Linked DNA regions of Homo sapiens: region 1 is linked to region 2. The links are contacts of gene promoters, found by promoter capture Hi-C in blood cells and fetal thymus (Javierre and others, 2016). All regions are on one chromosome and are shown on one strand. Each heading gives the region's core, a stretch centred on a gene start or on the middle of the fragment in contact. The rest is flanking DNA. Distances are from core to core; before and after follow the strand shown.

What was found. Contacts are between HindIII fragments. The CHiCAGO score rates a contact against its expected background, and 5 or more counts as called.
Region 1: a contact is called between a fragment that was not itself captured here and the fragment with the promoter of RTKN in region 2, in 1 of 17 cell types (M0 macrophages). The highest score is 6.4, in M0 macrophages.

The regions. Positions count from the first base shown.
Region 1 is chr2:71,069,637-71,072,364 of GRCh38, forward strand. It overlaps NAGK (N-acetylglucosamine kinase), which reads left to right. Exons shown (of 10, transcript NM_017567.6): 2 at 866-950; 3 at 1,105-1,203; 4 at 2,050-2,191. Among named protein-coding and RNA genes, the nearest start is that of NAGK, 2.4 kb to the left of the region's middle. The HindIII fragment of the contact is 539 bases long and covers 1,198-1,736 here.
Region 2 is chr2:74,440,511-74,443,313 of GRCh38, forward strand. RTKN (rhotekin) reads right to left here and starts at 1,427. Exons shown (of 12, transcript NM_001015055.2): 1 at 1,196-1,427. The coding sequence starts at 1,306. RefSeq lists silencers at 43-352, 1,068-1,127, 1,438-1,517. The HindIII fragment of the contact is 8,784 bases long and covers 1-2,803 here.

The DNA of each region.
Region 1 (2,728 bases), core at 217-2,716, 3.4 Mb before region 2:
CTGTAAGATATGACCCGTTTCTTCCAGTTCGTCAAGACATGCTTTTGGATGTGGAATCTGCCACCTCATGTATTAACTACCCCCTTGAAATTTCATGTCCTCTTTGAGTTTGATGAGCGGTCTTCAGTGTCTTCTTCTGCCATTCCTAAAAGTAATGATCAATAAAGAAACATATATCCCATCACCACAGATCTCCCTGTGAACTACTGTGACCCCCAGTAATCAACATTTGAAGGTTTAGTTGCTTAAGTATGTATGAAGTCACCCTGCCATCTGGTCAGCATTTCTAGCAAAGGTGTCTTGAAGACCTTGGCAGCTGGATCTTGAAATGCAGTCTTTAGCTATTGTGAGGGAAGCAGAGAGATGTGCCATTTTTCTTAGGAGTGTTTGCTGAGCATTGCCTGTGCCAGCTCCTGTGCTCGTTCTGAGAGGGTAAGTAAGTGATCAGGAGCTTGACCCAGTGGAGCTTGAAGTCTAGTGAGAGGCGGACACAAAGCGTCTGAACACACACTTCATACAGAGGAGACTTTAATAACTTTGGAGGCACTATGAAGGTTTAACTAACGGAGACTTAACTAATTCGTTGGGGTGGGCCACACCTCAGAAAAGGTTTCGAGGACTAGGTGAAGCGTAAGTAGAGTCTTGCAGGATAAGGAGGACATCCCCAAGGGAAGAGGAGTGAGAATTATGTTTCAGTTAAAGAGCACTCAAACACTGAACCACAGAGGCGGGTTTGGGAGTGGTGATTGAGTTTGTCGAAGCTGTCTCCTCCATCATACTGGGCTCTGCCAGTGTGGACAGCACAAGCTTAGCTCTCTCTGTGGGTTTTTCCGAGCAAGATCAAGTGCCCTCTTGTGTTCTGTAGGGGAGGCACACGATCCGAGGTCCTTTTAGTCTCAGAGGATGGGAAGATCCTGGCAGAAGCAGATGGACTGAGCACAAACCACTGGGTAAAAACCACACTGAGGGGATCAGAGGGCTTGGTTCTGATTTTATTCTCTGTAATTCCTGTTGAGGTGGTGGCTGGGACTCACAGAGCAGCCTGTGGGGGCAACATAGCTTCTGTAAGCCTTTGTAACTCCTTCTTCCCTTGATTGGGGCCAGCTGATCGGGACAGACAAGTGTGTGGAGAGGATCAATGAGATGGTGAACAGGGCCAAACGGAAAGCAGGGGTGGATCCTCTGGTACCGCTGCGAAGCTTGGTGAGTCTGGGGCGGAGCCTGGGAATTCAGCCATCTGTGACACTGAGACAGCTAGCAAGTTTGGACTAGATGAGTTTGATGACTGCAGAGGGAAAGACCTCCAAGACTTAGTCCCTGGTGTCAAAACTGTCATAATCTCACCCAGTCTCATGGCTTCAGTTGCCACCTACAAACTACAAATGTGTTGGAAGAGCACAGGGCTTTGGAGAGCTGCTGAGACCTTGGTTTGAATCCCAGCTTTGCTGCTCAGTATCTGCGTAACCCTGTGTAGGTTACTCACCTTCTCTAAGCCTCAGTTTCCTCATTTGGAAAATGTGAATAGTAGCTACCTCAGAGTTGTTGGGAAAGTAAAATGGCATGATACATTGCAAAGTGGTTAGTATAGAGCCTGACCCATAAGCACTCATTAAATGTTAGCTATTATTTACTCCTGGTTCAGATCTTTCTCCCAAGTTGCGGTAGCTCCAGCTACTCCCTGGACATATATGTGAGATGTTCTGCAGACACAGGCAAACCTCGTGTATACCAAACCAAGCTTACCTCTCTCCATCTCCCCTCACCTTGCCCCGCTGCCTGATCTTTCTGTTAAGAGCACTACTGCCCTTCCAAGCTCCAAAGCTGGCATTGTTGAATCCCCTCTTTCTTCTGTCCATCCCCAGTCCAGGTTGTTCTTATAACCACAGCCTTCTGAGGGGTCATTGTGTGGGGAGAAAGGAGGACTGGGGCTGGGTGAACAGGGTATGGCCAGATGGGGAGAACAGGAATCAGGCATCAGGAGGGGGCGGGGGTTGAGAAAAGAGCTGGGGCTGGGGCTCTGCACACTCGCTCACCTCCCGCGTGGCCTAGGGCCTATCTCTGAGCGGTGGGGACCAGGAGGACGCGGGGAGGATCCTGATCGAGGAGCTGAGGGACCGATTTCCCTACCTGAGTGAAAGCTACTTAATCACCACCGATGCCGCCGGCTCCATCGCCACAGCTACACCGGATGGTGAGGAAGTGGAGGGAGGGGTGAGAGTGAGAACTGGTTTTTTTGGGAAAGCCCCTTAGATATAGCTGACAAAACTTGTTCTGCAAATATCCAGAAGGCAGCCACTCTTATATTCCCCTCAACTCTTTAAGTAGTTTAAGTCTCTGCCAGAGCAAGGACCAGGCAGCAGGAGGAAGGGCAAGAAAGGTCTCTTGATGGGAATCCAGGAGTGGGGTCAAACATAACTCCCCTGCAGATGAGGGACCACCTGGGGGCGGTGTAGTGAGGAAGGCAGGCTGGGGAAGCTGTCAGTGCTGAGGAGGAAGTGGGGTGGCCTTGTGATAGTGTAAAGAGTTTTGGTGTCATGGGATTGGTGTTTGAATCCCAGTTCCTGTTTTGCCTGCTATACCATGTTGGCGAAGTTCCAAAACTCTGAGTTTCAGTTTTCTCATCTATAAAATAGAGGAAGTTGTATTCATAAGATGGTTTAGGGTATGAGTGAATATCACTGTGAGAACGGGTCTAGCACAATCCCAGTAAAGCAGGTAGAGTCACTGG
Region 2 (2,803 bases), core at 177-2,676:
GGCCCACGGAGTCACACTTCACTCGGCGGCCGCCAGGCCCTGCGGCTCCGCCCCAGCTCCTCCGAGCTGTCCCCGAAGGCCGGGCTAATCCCAGGGGCGGCCCCAGCTCACAGGCCCCTCCCCCTGGTCCCGGGCCTCGCCCCTTACTCCCCCACGCTGGCCCCACGCGGGTTCCTCGGGCCCAGTCGCTTGGGGGCAAGGGGACGCGACAAAGGCCCCCTCTCCCCAGGTCCACTAGCTTCTGAGTCAGAGAAGGCCCGGGACGCCGGGACAAGGGTGTGAAAGAGCCTCTTTGTTCTGGGCAGGCTGGAGGGAAAGGGCAGAAGCCAGGCCTGGAATCCCAGCCGGGAGGTAGAGGGGGCGGAAGGAAGGCCCACCTCACTTAACCCTTTCCAGACCCGGAAGGGAAGGCTTGGAACTGGGCTCTCCTTGGGCGAGTGTGAGTCTGACCTTGGGGACAGAAGAGTCTTCGGGGTAGCTATTCGCCCTCTCAGTCCCCGCTCAACCACACACCTTCAGCCCCGCCCTAGCCCTTAGGGCGTTACAGGTGGGGATCCAACAGGTTAACGCGTGGACGGCGGACGGGGGAAACGCTCAGCCTAGGGGCTGGACTCCTCTTAGGCCCCAGAAAAGGAGGCGGAAATTTTGCGTGTGGGAAGTAACCCCAAGGAGTTAAAAGCCCTGCAGGGGCATAGAGGAGCCTTTGAATTGGGCTTCGGGGAAGCGAGCGGCCCCGGCCTAAAGTCGGGGTTGATGACAGAGGCTGGCCCAGATGGCTGCGACAGGTTGTGGGATGGGGCTGGCGACTGGGGAACAAGCGGGAGCCCAGGCCAAGAGTCCGAGCGCTTGGGGCCCGCCTAGCTGCCCACCGCCCTTGGCCCGGGGATGCCCAAGACATTTTGGGGTTCAGGCACATTTTAGGAGTCGAGCTGGGGCCCTACAAATTGAGACCAACCCGGGCTTTTTCCAGGCTCAGGCAGATAATCCTAACCAGGCCGCGGAATGGGCAGCATGGATCCGATGAAAATGCAGACCGTCCACACCTTACTTTTTAAGTCAACAACTCCGTCGGGTTTGTACCCAGACCGTGCGTCTCCGCCCCTCGGCGTGCACGCGGGCGAGGGAAGGAGGCCGAGGTGGCTGGGGCTGCCCCCGGGAGCCGCGGAAGGGGAAGGCAGGGACGCGAGTCTCTCACCTCGGGCAGGTCGCTGAAGAGGCTGAGTCGGAAGCGGCCGCGTTTGAACTCCATCTCCAGGGCGGAGCCCCTGGCCACGGTGACCCGGCTCCGGTGGTTTCGGGAGAACATGCTGGCGGCCCTGCGACTTTGCCTGCTCAGTGCGCTCCCCGCGCCGCCCGGCTTAGCCTCCTCTCCTCGGCTTCTGTCTCTCGACGCTCGTCCGCCAGTCCGGCCGGGAATCTCCCGCTGCGGGGCTCCAAACCCCGCCCCCGGAGACGACACCTGGGCCGGGCAGGGCGCGGCAACCTCCTCTTCCACCCCCGCCAAAGGCCCAGCCCGTCCGGCCAGTCCCTGGGCGCCAAGCCGACCTGGCCCGACGGCCCCGGAGCCCCCAGGGGCGCACTGCACCTCGCGAGCACTGTGGGAGCGCGTTCTCCCTGCCCGCGCGGGTCGCGAGCGCCTACCTGGACTTGGGACGGACCGAGAAGCCCTGCCCCGCCAGCCGCCCCAACCTGGCAAGCCTGGCTTCCCGGGCGCTGAAAACCCCGTGGCTCAGGGATCGCCGCGTAGCACGCTCTGGCTCTACTCGGGCCCTGGGACCTTGCCCAGTTTCAATCCCGGCAGCCTCCGAAGAGACCATTTCAACATCCCACAGTCCCAAATGTTCCTTCTTCGTCCCCCTCCCCACCTAGGCTCCTCTGCGAGGCTATCCGCCTAAGCCTAGTGGCCACAACTGATGGGGCGGTGCTTAAACACGTCGTGAAACCCCAGCTCTGTCACTAACTAACCGTGCAATCATTAACTTGGTCCAGTCACTGGCCTTTCTGAGCTTCAGTTTTCTCATTTGTTCAGTGGGAATACTGTAATTATCTCCACTCCTCAAGTTGCTATGAGGATTACCTATAAGAATGAGGGTAAAATGCCCAGCATAGTGCCTGGCACAAGGCAAGTGCCCCATATTTGCAGTCATAAAGAGCAGCTGCGCGCGGTGGCTCACGCCTGTAATCGCAGCACTTTGGGAGGCCTAGGAGGGTGGATCACCTGAGGTTGGGAGTTCGAGACCAGCCTGACCAACATGGAGAAACCCCATCTCTACTAAAAATACAAAATTTAGCCGGCCATGGTGGCACATGCCGGTAATCCCAACTACTTGAGAGGCTGAGGCAGGAGAATCGCTTAAACCCGGGAAGCAGAGGTTGTGGTGAGCTGAGACCCCACCATTGCACTCCACCCTTGGAAACAAGAGCGAAACTACGTCTAAAAAAAAGATGGCTGGGTGCAGTGGCTCAAGCCTGTAATCCTAGCACTTTGGGAGGCCAAGGGGGACTGATCGCTCTTGAGCTCAGGAGTTGGAGACCAGCCTGGGCAACATGAAACCCTGTCTCAACAAAACACACACACACACGCACACACACACACAAATTGGCCTGGCATGGTGGTGCACACCTGTAGTCCCAGCTACTCGGGAGGCTAAGGTGGGAGGATTGCTTGAGCCCGAAAGTTCAAGTCCAGCCTGGGCAACATAGTGGGACCCCATCTCTTAAAAAGCATTACAAATATGTATAATTTTTTATTTTTATTTATTTATTTATTTATTTATTTTAATTTTTTTTTTTTAAGACAGAG